2 separate regions of the Homo sapiens genome follow, and region 2 is linked to region 1. Evidence: promoter capture Hi-C in 16 types of primary human blood cells and fetal thymus (Javierre and others, 2016). All regions are on one chromosome and are shown on one strand. Each heading gives the region's core, a stretch centred on a gene start or on the middle of the fragment in contact. The rest is flanking DNA. Distances are from core to core; before and after follow the strand shown. Region 1 holds the start of CCDC28B (coiled-coil domain containing 28B). Region 2 overlaps HDAC1 (histone deacetylase 1).

What was found. The method cuts DNA at HindIII sites, captures the fragments that hold promoters and counts their contacts. A CHiCAGO score of 5 or more calls a contact.
Region 2: a fragment that was not itself captured here is called in contact with the fragment with the promoter of CCDC28B in region 1 in 13 of 17 cell types (endothelial precursors, total B cells, megakaryocytes and 10 more); the score reaches 14.9 in endothelial precursors.

The regions. Positions count from the first base shown.
Region 1 is chr1:32,195,748-32,203,087 of GRCh38, reverse strand. CCDC28B (coiled-coil domain containing 28B) reads right to left here and starts at 2,493. Exons shown (of 6, transcript NM_024296.5): 1 at 2,379-2,493; 2 at 989-1,175. The coding sequence starts at 1,152. It overlaps TXLNA (taxilin alpha), which reads right to left. Exons shown (of 11, transcript NM_175852.4): 11 at 4,803-7,340. RefSeq lists enhancers at 1,127-1,647, 1,516-1,735, 1,648-2,167, 2,426-2,505, 2,718-3,275 and 2 more. The HindIII fragment of the contact is 8,664 bases long and covers 1-6,875 here.
Region 2 is chr1:32,313,189-32,320,528 of GRCh38, reverse strand. HDAC1 (histone deacetylase 1) reads right to left here. Exons shown (of 14, transcript NM_004964.3): 3 at 3,747-3,864. Among named protein-coding and RNA genes, the nearest start is that of MARCKSL1, 19 kb to the left of the region's middle. The HindIII fragment of the contact is 225 bases long and covers 2,629-2,853 here.

The sequences.
Region 1 (7,340 bases), core at 1,244-3,743:
ATCTCGGTTCACTGCAACCTCTGCCTTCCAGGTTCAAGTGATTCTTGTGCCTCAGCCTCCCAAGTTGCTGGGATTATAGGCACCCACCATCACGCCTGGCTAACTTTTGTATTTTTAACAGAGATGAGGTTTCACCATGTTGACCAAGCTGGTCTCAAACTTCTGACCTCAGGTGATCTGCCTGCCTCAGCGTCCCCAAGTGCTGGGATTATAGGCTGAGCCACCATGCCCAGCCAACCCTCTTCTATTTAAAAACTCTTTTAAACAAAAACAAAAATACATAGAAAACAAAGCCAAACCAATAAACCAAAAAAACTGTCTTAAAATTTCCACTGCTCTCAGGATAAAATTGAATGCCCCTGCCAGCCTGGCCCTCCTGCCTTCCCAGTTGCCTTTCCTGCTACTCTCCCCACAGCCTTGAGCTTCATGCCCCTTAGGCAAGTGGTGTGCAAAACCAGGGGGAAACACAGTGGTCTTATCTGGAGCAACTGGAGAAAGAATACATTGTATTTAGTGGGGAACAAACATGGACACATTATAAGGCAGCATGCAAACTCCCAATCATAAAAAAAATTCAACAGAGAATTCAAATTGTGCCCCCAGGTATTTCCTCACCATTTCCTGTTCCCTGATACTCCAGGGCCCCCAAACCACCTGTGGTTCCTGAAACCTTTCAGGTAATAGCTTTCTTCCATATTTATACCAGGTAAGCCTCTCAGCGTGGAACATTCACTTTCTTGCAGAGTTGCTCACTCCCTCCTCTGAGGCGAATCCTCACGCTATGTGATCCCAGTGACCCACCTGGCCTTTTTGCCACACAGTTGAGGGTAGGGACTGGGTCTGAGTGAGCTCTGAGTTCTCAGGGGTCTGCTCCAGAAAGGCATCAATTATTGCTTAGGAACTAAAGGCGGAGGCCCCCCTTGCCTTCCTCTCTACAGTGCAACCCAGAGTTGGGGTCCCTCCTCCTTTCCTTCCCTTCTGTACCCACCTCTTGAACTTGGCCCGCTGCTTGGGGGATGGCAGATGAGGAAGTCCTAGGGCCAAGGAGCCGCTGTGGCTGGTAGGCACAGGGACCCTCCGTAGTGTGCCTGGGGCCTGGGCTGGCTGGGCCAGGCAGGGCTTGGGACTCCGTTTCTTCTTTTTGTCATCCATTGGGCGCTGGCTGGGCCTCAGGCCTAGGAGGGAAGCAACCCCACAAAGATAGCCAGGGGCAAAGTTAGCCCTTCACCCAGAAATCCCTGAGAGCTGCACCAAGGAAGGGCCCTGGGACCTTCCAGCTTGTCACCTCATCTATACGGTAGGGGCAGAGCCAGATGCCAGTGTCTGCTGCTGGGATCGTGGATGTACACTTGAAGGACCTTCTAAGGCCCAACCTAATTCCCCTTCTGCCTGAAAACCTAGGCCCCTCCTGAAAGGGTGGGACCAGTCACAACTATCTTGGCGCTACTGGGGCTTCCTGTCACGGTGGCTGGGGGGCGGGGCTGGCAGAGGAAATGTAGTGGGAGACAAGACGGAGGTGAGCTGCAGAAGCCCAGCCGAAGATTAGGGATGTCTTAACTAAACCCTATTCTATTTATCAGGGGCCTAAGCAGATGCTAACAAACCCTGTCAGCATGGGAGGGGGACAAGGTGCAGGTAGGGGCGCCTGGGAAAGCCCCAGCGTGTGGGTAATTGTAGGAGAAGCCGCAGCATACAGGGCAGGGTTCATTGTGGGTTTCCCCCACATAGACACCGGCATCCCTCCACTTCCACCCACCCCCAACCGAAAATATTAGGGACTCCCTATAGGTCCCGCGGGTGTGCTTTCAGCTGCTTCATTTTTCCCAGTCGGAAAGTCCCTGCTGGGCTTCAGCTGCAGCCAGGGTGGACTGGGTGGTTGGCCGCTGGCTGCCTGGGCCTCCGACAAAGGCTGCGCCTGTGGCTGGGCTGCTCCGAGGTCCCCGGTCCAGCAGCGCCCCCCAAGCCTCCGGTCGGCTGGGGTTCCCTCCTCTGGGGGTCTCATTCCAGGCTGCTGCTACCGAGCCTAACTTCGAATTCTGGGACTGGGGGGGTTGGGGGGGTGGGTGGCGCTTAAGCATTTACACTGACACATAGCTGGCTGCCACTGACGGGGTCTGCGGGTGTGGGGAGGGGAGATAGGAGCGCATCCTCTGCCTCTCCGTGCAGCAGCTTGACCCAATTAGGGACCTGATAGAAGAACTGGAGCCGGAGCCTGTGCTCCCCAGGAGCGGCTGGGGCGACCGGGGATCTATTTCCCAAGCCCGGGCTCCAAAGCCATGTGCCAAACTCATCGCTCAGCTCCGCAGCCGCGCTCGAAGACAGAGCGTCAGACCCGCGTCATTCCGCCCCCGCCCTCACTCCCTCAGGGGGCTACTGACCTGGAGGTTTGGGGTCTCGAGTGATGCTTCGGTGCAAGTTCCCTCCGCCCTCCGCCCTCTCCTCCCGGGAACACCACCGGGTGAAAGCTAAGCTGGAGGGAGTTCATTTGCATTTAAAGAGAAAGTGACCTTCTCCTTAGCGCGGTGGGGTGAGATGGGAGGAGCATCCCCGCGTATGCTAAGCAGTTCCTCTCACTCGACCTCACCTCCCCGCCTGAACCTAGGGGACCCTGTTGGTTGTGTGATGTCTATTTTAAAAAGATTTTCCCTTTCCCGGCAGTTTCAGAGAGAAGCTACAGTTCCTTACAAAATGGTGGTGGCTTTGTCAGAAAGGGGGTGGGGCGGGGGAGAGGAGAGACAGAGTGAGTGAGTGAGAGAGAGAGAATGTAAGCACAGAAGAAGCACAAGCAGCAACAGCAGCAGCATCAGGAAGACACTTCGAGCAAAGACAGCCATCAATGGAGTGAGTCCAGTGCCCTATTGAGCACTTTACATACATTTCATCCCCATAACAACCCTTAAGGAAGATACCAGTGTCATTCCCCATTCTACTGAAAGTAAGCAACAGTCTTTTGAGGGCAAAACCCCTCTCTCTACAATGCCAGACAGTTTTCTCTGGTAAGTGGTGGGGGCTGTATTTTGCCGCAGATGAAGTGACAGGAGTCCTCCCCACCCCCCAGGCCTAGGAGACAGGTGTGGGGAGCACCAGGTCATAAGGTAGACCACGCGATTCCCTGGCACCTGACTCCAGTCCTCAGGGAAACCTGAGCACCTGATGGAGGCTGACCCAGTGTGACTGCTGCTGCCTGCAGCCAGATCAATGGGGGCAGCTATTTAAAGCCCTGGCAGAGGCTCCTGGCGCAGGTCCCCAGAACAGCATCTGATACAACAGGAGAGAGGCTCATGTTTGGCCAGGCGGCTCAGCAGGCTCAAGTGAGCTGGCCCAGGGCAGTGCACACAGCCACCCAGCCCACCTTCCCCATCCCCGGGCAGGAGTGGCTTCCTGGGGTTGGGCCTCTTGGCTGATGTGGGGAGCCATGGGCACTGCTCCTGAGGGCACCTGCTCAGGGCTTCTTCCTGGGTACTTCCAACACTCAGAACACTCCACAAGGGTAAAGAGTAATTCCGAACTTTTTCAATAACCAGGGGCCCAGACTGGGGACAACAGAAATCCCTCTCCTTCCCCACCGGAGCTGCTAGAGTAGACAGTGGTAATGCTGCTGACAGAGGGAGCACCCCTGTGGTTCCCATCCTCAGCTGCTTCACTGGGGGGTCAGAAACCTCATTATTCTCAGAGCTGCTTTGCTTGGAATCTCCAAGAGTTGGGGCGGCACCCCCCCCACACCCTCCAGAGGATCTGCGACTAGAAATAACATGGCCAGCATGGAAAACATGTATCAGGACCCAGCTAGAAGGGTCAGAGGCTCTGCTGGGACTGTCACAGTCATTGTGGGCACATCTATTTGTGGAGGCCTGGAGGGAAGGGCAGGTGGGTTGTCTCTGCCATTTCCTGGGCATTCAGCACATATCATCCTTTGTGCCTGACCAACCCAGGACCCAGAGAGAACAGGGTGCTGGGTGAGGCCACCAGCAGCATGTCTCCCATATAGGAGTCCCATGCTTGAGGTGGGTAAATGGGGGGTGTAAAAACTGAACAGAGAATGTGCTCTCCTTAAGGAATGCATACAATTAGAGGCCCCTGTGAATTCCCTTGGGCAGGCCAGGGCTATAGGAGCCTACCCACAGCTCAGACCCAAATAGCAGTGATGAGTGTCCACCCCTCTTAACCTGGGCCTCAAATGGCCTATGCCTGGCTCCATGCCTTTTGCCTTACTGCTGGAGCCTATCAATTTCCTATTGAAACACCTTCAGTTGCCCCCCCTGCCCTCTGGATCTAGCCCACATTCCTTAACCTGGTACCCAGACTCTGGGCCCAGCCTCACCCCCTCTCCCAGTCCCATGGACCTGCTTCCCAGCTGTACCATTTAATCACTAAATGACGTTCATCTTCTACCTGCCCTGTGGTTCAGAAGGCCATTCCAGGTATCACCCCCTCACCTTGCTGAAGGGGGCAGGGGCCTCCTCTCTGCTCTCAGCACCATTGACCTGTCTATAGCTAAAAGTACCTTTTCCCTTCACTAGCCTGTGAGCCCCCAGGTCAGGGAAAACTTTTTTGTGTGTGTGTGATCCTCTCTGAGGCAAGGGTCTTGCCAACTTTGCCAAGGGCTCCACTCAGGCAGCTCAAGTGAATATGCCAGCATCCTGAGGCTGTGGCGACTGCTCAAAGACACTGTGGAATATGTAAGATACCAGGGAACCACCATGGGCGCTCTGCAGCAGACCTGAACAAGTCAGTGATGATGGAAGGGGCTGAATGGATCAGATCCAGAAACAAAGGAATACACAGGTCAGGAGAGAAACAAGTAAGGCAACAGACTCTTTATTTAATGTGGTTTAAAATACATCAAAATCAAGTCCCTGGCTGTTGTGAATACCCAAAGGAGACAAAAAAGCTGCCAGTGCAGCTTCAAACAAGTCTGAGTGGCCGGGCTGGGCCATAAGGAAAGCAGTTACAGGGACAGAAGGCAGCTCCCTTCCCCCAGGAAGGGCAAGAGGAGCAGGTGCCTGGCTGTCCCTGGGGTGACCACCTCTGTGCTGTGCAAGGCGGAAAGGCTGGGGCAGCAGCTGGAGAATCAGCTCAGCAGGCCTTGGCCCTCCCCCGTGGACACCAGGCAGCTCCACTGGCCTCCGGGTCAGCCCTCAGGGCCACCGTGATGGGGTGGAGGAGGGTTAAATAACCATCTTTACAGAAATAACAGTCTCCTACAGAAAGTGCCTGAGCTCAGCCCATGGTCCGATAACCTCATGGAAAACAAACAACAAATAAAAAAAAAAAGTGCTGCTGACACCTCTCAGAATCTGGTGGACATGAAGCTCTCAGCTGGACAAGGCCCTGAAAACAATTTACTATTAGCAGAGCCATGCGCTCTTGAGCTTCACCTGCTGTGGTCCCCTGGAGGAAAAGCTAGCAATCTAAGAAACCAACACAGATCTTGGTCCTAAAACTGAGGTCACAAGTGTGGGACCCACCCAGGTGAGGAAGACACTGGCCTTCACTCATGGATAGGCACCTCCCCTGCATCTGGCCCAGGACCTGGGCTACTTTGGAAAGCAGAAGCAGAGCAGCTGTAGTGATTGGTTGATTTGGTCAATGAAGAGAAGAAAAAGGTAGGGAACCTCATCTGCAGACTGGCCTGAAGGTCTAGACATGGATGGAGCTGTGAGCAAAGGCTGCACCTTGCCTGGGGCCCACATTCCTGACCTGGGAAACCCAGCTGGGGCCACCTGCTCACTGTGGCCTCCTACACCACCACACTGGGATCCAGCAGCTCCAGTCCCTCCACAGGCATTAAGAGGTAGCTGAAGTGTGAGTCAGGCAATTATGTGGGCCACTGTAGGCCTTTCCCCTCTCTTCAAGGGGGAAGGTGCATACCTCTGCCTCTTCCCTGCACCTCTCTCGCCTAGCAAACACTCTGTGAGGTTGGCAGCTCTTGTACCAGCTTAGCCTGGCACAGGGGCTGGGGTAGGGAAAAGGCCCTACTGGAGCAGGAAGAGGCAAGGACTACTCCAGACAGAGGGATTCAAAGGGGAAGAAAAAGGTCATGGGAAACACTTCACAGGACAGCAGTATCTCAGCCAGAGATGGCAGAGATCTCAACACTCACACAGCTGCTTGAGGGCACCTAGATGTGAAGGATACACCAGAGAATAGCAGGCAACTCTGATGCAGATCAGTGGTACCTGCCCTGGGGCAGGAGAAGGAGAAATGGTGTGCCATTCATTTGCCATCTCTGGTCTCAGTCACACATGATTCAGTACTTAACATTCTTTGTGAACCAACTTATCTGAGAGATTTAAGGTAAGGGCTAAAAGAGTGGGCTAGGTATGGAAGATGAAGGGACCTGCAGGACAATGAACTAGCTTCAAAGAAAAACAGCAAGAAGCAAAGCCCTAACCATCCTATCCATCTTGGTCTGAGTCATTCTGTTGTCCCAGAAAACTGCTTGGCACAAACACTGGCTAATACCCTGGCAAGTTTGCAACAGCAGAACATTCAGCATATAGAATGGCTCTACACAGTACATAGTAGTTATGTACTGGAGTGGGGGTAGAACAGGACACAGAAACAACTGTCTGCAGCCATTTTATGGATTTCTGGGGCCCAGTCAATAGTTCAATTTCATTTCTTACCTGTTAGACAACAGCTATGGGCTCCCACACAGGAAGAAGTAGAATCCCCAAGGACAGGCAGGGAGGTGCCAGGAAATAGAATCAGGACAAATCTTGAGGATTGCACATGTGGGGGTGGGGGCAGGAAGCAGAAAAACCCATGAAGCCAAAGAGGCAGCTGGACATGGGACCCAGCAACTGCTGCATGGAGACAGTGCTGATGGGAACTGGTGGTGGCCTCTCAGGACTGAAACCCACAGGTAAGCTTGTGGCAAAGCCATCAGAAGCCCTTTCCTTTCTTTTACCACAAACAACCTGATCTCACCAAACAGGAAACCTCAGCATCAAGATGGCAAAGGAGCCAAGTGGGGTGGTGAAGGAGGTGGGACACTGGAGGCCAGGCACCCAGGCACCACTGCTACAGCATCCCTCTTCCTTGGAAGGTCCTCAATACAAACACTGTCATGTGCAAAAAAAAAAGAAAAAGAAAAAAAAAAAAAAAGAAAAAGAAATAAAGAAAAAAACACCTTCAGAAATAATCCTTTGGGTGATCTCTTGTCAATCATTTGTGCAGGCTAGAGAGGCACCTGTGAATGATAAGGCTACTGAGAAGCATCATTGGCCTGGTCCTGGCACTACCAAAGGGCAGGGGAAGCGATGCCCAAGGGGCTCCTGACCAGCACATCATCCCACGCAAAAACATTCTCCAGGTCCCTTGTTCCAGGCAGGAAA
Region 2 (7,340 bases), core at 1,492-3,991, 120 kb before region 1:
TGCTGTGTGACTGGGAAAGTTTACATGTCTGTAAAATGGATGAGAATGTCTCCCAATTTTTTACCAATCCCTTTTATCATGTTTTCACCAAAAGCCCCCTAAATGCATTTATTTGTGTTCCCATTTTCACTTGCTAAATATTAGGTCAGAACTTCTGGTCAAGGCTCTCAAAGTGACCAGAAAGGGTTTATTACATTTCAGCCACAAGCAAGGAAACCTGATTTACTCGATCTTATCATAAGCATAACTTCCTAGATTAGGTGTGTGGGATGTTTTTGTGTGTGTGTGGGTTTTTTTTTTTTTCTTTTTGAGAAGGAGTCTCGCTCTGTCGCCCAAGCTGGAGTACAGTGGCGTGATCTCGGCTCACTGCAAGCTCCGCCTGTCGGGTTCACACCATTCTGGTGCCTCAGCCTCCCGAGTAGCTGGGACCACAAGCGCCTGCCACCACGTCCGGCTAATTTTTTGTAAATTTTTAGTGGAGACGGGGTTTCACCGTGTTAGCCAGGATGGTGTCTCGATGTACTGACCTCGTGATCCGCCCACCTCGGCCTCCCAAAGTGCTGGGATTACAGGCATGAGCCACCACGCCTGGCCATGTGTGTTTTTTTTTTATTGAGACGAGTTCTTGCTATGTTGCCCAGGCTGGAGTGTGGTGGCGAAATGAGACCATACCTCAATGCAGCCCTGAACTGGGCTCAAGGGATCCTCCTGCCTCAGGCTCCTGAGTAGCCAGAATCACAGGCATGTGCCACCATACACAACTAATTTTTTATTTTTATTTTTTTAAGATAAAATAAGAGATGGGGGTCTCACTATGCTGCCCAGGCTGGTCTTGAACTCCTGGCCTCAAGCTATCCCTCCTGCCTTGCCCTTCAAAGCACTGGCATTACAGGTGCATGCTACCATGTCCAGCGCCTAGGTTAGATATTGGTACATATTCTAAAAGGGCAAGTTAAGGATTAAGGAATTTGAGGCTGCAGTGAGCTATGATCTTGCCACTGTACTGTACCCTGGATGACAAAGCAAGACCCCATCTCTAAAAACAAGAATAAAAATAAAAATAATTCTTTTTTTAAAAAGGGCTCATTACTGTCTTGGTAGATACCCCAGGTTATAAAGCACTGTGTTAAGTGACATCTAAAGTCTCTGTCTACTCTGACCCTCCATAACCCTACAAATCAACTCAGTGAGGTACTCTGAAGTTCTTAGAGAGGCTTATTCTTCCTGCCCCCATTTCTGATGACAGAAAAATCCAAGACCTAATTATTTTAATTAGAAAAATTTTTTTTAGAGACCAGGTCTCACTATATTACCCAGACTGGCCTTGAACTCCTGGGCTCAAGAAATCTTCCTGCTTCAGCCTCCTAAGTAGCTGAGACTATAGGCACCCAGACTGAATTTTTTTTTTTTGAGACGGAGTCTCGCTCTGTCGCCCAGGCTGGAGTGCAGTGGCGCGATCTTGGCTCACTGCAACCTCTGCCTCCTGGGTTCAAGCAATTCTCCTGCCTCAGCCTCCTGAGTAGCTGGAATTACAGGCATGTACCACCAAACCAAGCTAATTTTTGTATTTTTAGTAGAGATGGGGTTTCACTATGTTGGCCAGGCTGGTCTCAAACTCCCGACCCCAGGTGATCTGCTTGCCTCAGCCTCCCAAACTGCTGGGATTACAGGCGTAAGCCACCACACCCAGCCAGACTGAATTTTTTAATGTACAACTTTAGAATGCTGGATTCGGAAAAATTGGCGCACCAGAGCAGAACCTGCACACTCCTCAGGGCATAGCATTTTGTCTGCCTTGATAAGTTTGTAAATAATAAAAATAGTAAGTCATAATAGCAAAAGTGATTATGCAATAGCAAAAATAGCAAAAGCAATTCATTGAGGGTAGACATATTATATATATTTAAATATATTATCTTCACTTATTCCCCCATCCTTGACTATGAAATAGGCACTAATGTCTTTTTTTTTTTGGTCTCGCTCTGTTGCCCAGGCTGGAGTGCAGTAGTACAATCATGGCTCACTGCAGCCTCGACCTTCCAGGCTCAAAAGATCCTCCCTCCTCAACCTCCTGAGTAGCTGGGACCACAGGTGTGCACCGCCATGCCCAGCTAATTTTTTTATTTTTTTGTAGAGATGAGGGTCTCACTATGTTGCCCAGGCTGGTCTCAAACTCCTGGCTGGGCTCAAGCAATCCTCCCACCTTGGGCTCCCAAAGTGCTAGGATTACAGGCATGAACCGCTGTGCCTGTCCTGTCTTCCTCTTAAAGAGGGAAAACAGGTCGGGCACAGTGGCTCAGGCCTATAATCCCAGCACTTGGGGAAGCCGAGGCTGGCATATCACCTGAGGTCGGGAGTTTGAGACCAGCCTGACTAACATGGAGAAACCTAAAAATACAAAATTAGCCGGGCGTGGTGGCACATCCCTGTAATCCCAGCTACTCAGGAGGCTGAGGCAGGATAATCGCTTGAAGCCGGGAGACGGAGGTTGTGGTGAGTAGAGATCGCCCCATTGCACTCCAGCCTGGGCAACAAGAGCGAAACTCTGTCTCAAAAAAAAGTGGCAGGGGCGGGAAATAACACCAGAGGGGCTAGGAAACCAAGGATTCAAACTAAGACATGAAAGCTTATTTTCTTACTTTAATAGCAAGTTGCTCCTCTAGTGAGAGCCCACTGTGCTGAGAGTAGAGCCTGATCCTTGGCCTAAATGGGTTATGGAAACCTCTAAAGCCATCTACAGGAAAGGCATGAATTTGCCTCATCTTGGAGGGAAATAAGACCCTGCAATTCAGAGAGCAAACACCTCACTCACAGCAGCTGGCAGCTCCTGGAGTTGTCGGTAGCAAAGAAGCTTAATGCTTCAAGGAAGGTCTCTGTGGTTCTGCCATCAATACCACTGTACAGTTATTATTAGTTGTAATAATAGTTATAAATAACTTTCTTCCTTGGGAGTAAGACTACCTTGTGGTCAGCAGCAACAAACAAGTGCCGCATATTTTCTGACACTTCCATATAAGCTGTCATAAGTTAATCAAAACTTCTTCTGGACAGTGCTGTTATACTATATGAAGTCTTAGGTGCTAAGAGATAATTTCTAAAATAACACAAGGGGGAAGTCAGGTATGATAGTTTTGTCCCAAATTTGAATACTTTTTTTTTCCCCCTCACAGCTAAAATAATTCCCACGATTCCTACAAACTAAGCGTGGCTTCCAAGATGGGACCTGCTCTGAAGTTCAAGTCCAAGGGATCAGGGGCAGCATCACCTCATCTCAAAGATTACACCATCTAGAATCTGTCCTGAGTGGCCTCTAAATTCTCAATTAATACCCACTAAGTCAAAACAGTTACAGTTGGACAGAAATCAGAGATCATGTGGCCCAGCCCACTTTACAAAAGAAGAATCTGAGGGGAAGTGACTTGCCCACTCAGCTGAGAGTTAGAGTTAAATTTTACTGTATCTATTGTCTCCCCGTCCCAGGTCAGTGCTTTTTCCACTACAATAATTACAGTACTCTTGGGACAGTGTTGTGAACATAACCAGAAAAAGTACTACCTCTATCGTTTACAAATCAGGAAACATGAAAAATCCGACTTGAGGGGAAAAAGCACTCTGGCACCTTTAGGAGGTAGGGGAAATCAGGTGTCCACTGAATGGGAGGTGCGAGGACGGCAGAATGGGCCTCTACAGTGGAAAGGGAGATGCAACTGGCGGCTTCAGAGTGTGAGGGAACAGAATGGACTTACATCTCTGCATCTGCTTGCTGTACTCCGACATGTTATCTGGACGGATGGAGCGCAAGAATTTAATGTAGTCATCGCTGTGGTACTTGGTCATCTCCTCAGCATTGGCTTTGTGAGGGCGCTAGAGGGCAGAAGGGAGAAAGGGCAAGTTATTTTTGACCACGGCCAGTCCAGTCAATCTAGTTTGAATATTTATATTTCCTGCGCAGCATGGAGCTAGGTGCTATAAAGAATAAAAAGAAATAACTGGTTAGATTCAGGCTTCAAGAAATTTACAATCTAACTAGGCAAACAAGATTATCAAAGGAGACAGAGTATCAGAAGACCTACAGCAGCTCAAGCTCTGTTGCTTAGGCAAGTTACTGTCTCTTGAACCTCCATTTCCTCATTTACTAAACAGGGACAACATAGACCACACAGGGAAGTTGAGAGAATTGGAAGAGGTTGTTAAATCTCTTTGTAAACTGTAAGGTGCTTTACAAAATTATTACTTTTTTTTTTTGAGACGGAGTCTCGCTCTGTCTCCCAGGCTAGAGTGCAGTGGCGCAATCTCGGCTCACTGCAAGCTCCGCCTCCCGGCTTCACGCCATTCTCCTGCCTCAGCCTTCCAAGTAGCTGGGACTACAGACGCCCACCACCACGCCCGGCTAATTTTTTTTGTATTTTTAGTAGAGACAGGGTTTCACCGTGTTAGCTAGGATGGTCTTGATCTCCTGACCTCGTGATCCGCCCGCCTCGGCCTTCCAAAGTGCTGAGATTACAGGCATGAGCCACCAAGCCCGACCTTTTTTTTCGTTTTTTTTTGTTTGTTTGTTTGTTTTGAGGCGGAGTCTCACTCTGTCACCCAGGCTGGAGTGCAATGGCATGATCTCGACTCACTGCAACCTTCGCCTCCTGGGTTCAAGCGATTCTCCTGCCTCAGCCTCCCGAGTAGTTGGGATTACAGGCGCCCACCACGACGCTGGCTAATTTTTGTATTTTTAGTAGAGATGGGGTTTTACCATGTTGGTCAGGATGGTCTCGAACTCCTGACCTCAGGTGATCCGCCCTCCTCGGCCTCCCAAAGTGCTGGATTACAGGCATGAGCCACTGCGCCCGGCCTACAAAATTATTACTTATTATTATATAAAACTGGCCGAGTGCAGTGGCTCACGCCTGTAATCCCAGCACTTTGGGAGGCTGAGGCGGGTGGATCACCTGAGGTTAGAAGTTCGAGACCATCCTGACCAATATGATGAAATCTGGTCTCTACTAAAAATACAAAAATTAGCTGGACGTGGTGGCATGCACCTGTAATCCCAACTACTCAGGAGGCTGAGACAGGAGAATCGCTTGAACCTGGGAGGTGGAGGTTGCAGTGAGCTGAGATTGTGCCACTGCACTCCATCCTGGGCAACAAGAGTGAAACTTCCTCTCAAAAAAATAAATTAAAAAAAATATATATGTATATATACGTATTATAAAATTATGGACAAAATGGCTCCAAGAGTTCACGAAAAAAGGGTATCTAATGAAAACTGAAACAGATGGGAAATCCTTTATAAGTCATCACATCAACAATTTTGATCACATCCTCCCCACTAACACTTCCTTGACAAGCTAATTTCCTGGTTATCCCAACATTCTGACTCCTCCTTCCCTTTTTAAAATTATTTCCTTTTCCTCCCATCCCTTAAAGGTAGGTCTTCTTCAAACATGACCCTCTGCCTCTCTAATTACCAATACAACAAAAGTCCTCACTTAATGTCATCCACAGGTTCTTGGAAATTGTGACTATAGGCAAAACAATGTATAAAGAAACCAATTTTACCATAGGCTAATTGATATAAACAAGAACTTAAGCTCCTACAGCATATTTCTGTCACAAAAACATCACTAAAATTCTAAATAAAGACCCAAAACACTTCAAACATCAAATACTGAAATAAATGTGAAATATCCCTTTTTTTTTTTTTTTTTTGAGACGGAGTCTCGCTCTGTCGCCCAGGCTGGAGTGCAGTGGCGCGATCTCGGCTCACTGCAAGCTCTGTCTCCCAGGTTCACACCATTCTCCTGCCTCAGCCTCCCAAGTAGCTGGGACTACAGGCGCCCGCCATCACACCTGGCTAATTTTTTGTACATTTAGTAGAGATGGGGTTTCACCATGTTAGCCAGGATGGTCTCGATCTCCTGACCTCGTGATCCACCCGCCTCGGCCTCCCAAAGTGCTGGGATTACAGGCATGAGCCACCTTGCCCGGCGAAATATCTCTATATTTAAGAAATATTTATAAAAATAAGGAAGATCATTATTGGGCTGGGTGCAGTGGCTCATGCCTAAAATCCCAGTACTTCGGGAGGCTGAGGCAGGTGGATCACTTGAACCCAGGAGTTTGAGACCAGCCTGGGCAACGTGGTGAAACCCTGTCTCTACAAAAATATAAAAAATTAGCTGGCTGTGGTGGCACTTGCCTATAGTCCTAACTACTCAAGAGGCTAAGGTGGGAGGATCACCTGAGCCCAGGGAAGTCCAGGCTGCAGTGAGCTGTGATCTTGCCACTGCACTACAGTCTGGGCAACAGAGCAAGACCCCGTCTCAAAAAATATATACATTATTATTTACCCAATTTTTGGTGAATCAGTGAGTGATGGCGGTTGTTGTGGTGGTGGGTTAAATCAAATAATAAATGTATGCAAAGTTAAAATTGCAAGGAGAACCTTCTACCATCATGCAGTTCAAAAACGAACAATAACAAATATGGCAGGCTCGCTGAGTGTTTCTGTATCACATCTTTTATTGTTGTGCATCTGTATGATTATTGTCTACTTTATGAATTTTTACTTGACAATAATTTGAATTCAATCATTCATTTCCAAGGGTGGCCAGAGCCTGTCCCGCAGCTCAACACAAGGAACCAACCTTGGACAGGACGCCATTCCATCACAGGGTGCACTCACACCCATATCCACACTTGCTCAGACTAGGACCATGGAAACATGCCAACTCACCTCACATGCACATCTTTGGGATGTGGGAGAAAAATGGAGTACCCGGAGAAAACCTACACAGACATGGGGAGAATATGCAAACACCATACAGATAGTGGCCATGCCAGGAATCAGTTATTTTTCTCCTCAACGTTATAACTAAATGATGCTGAGCGAAGTGATGTTATTTGAGAACCTGCCATATTTTCTGCAGTTTATAAAGCATTTTCAATACACAGCCAACATTTATTGTTTCCTCTGTGACAGTCACTCTTTCAGGCACTTTAAACGCTATCTCATATGATTCTTACAACAACCTTTTAAAGATCTAAGCCCTGGAGGATCGCTTGAGCCTAGGACTTCAAGGCTAGCCTGGACAACATAGTGAGACCCTGTCTTTTTCTCTTTTTTAAAATAATTATCGGGGCCAGGCGCAGTGGCTCACACCTGTAATCCCAGCACTTTGGGAGGCCGAGGTGGGTGGCTCACCTGAGGCCAGGAGTTCAAGACCACCCTGGCCAACACAGCGAAACCCCATCTCCAATAAAAATACAAAAATTAGCCGGGCGTCATGGCAGGTGCCTGGAATCCCAGCTACTCAGGAGGCTGAGGCAGGAGAATTGCTTGAACT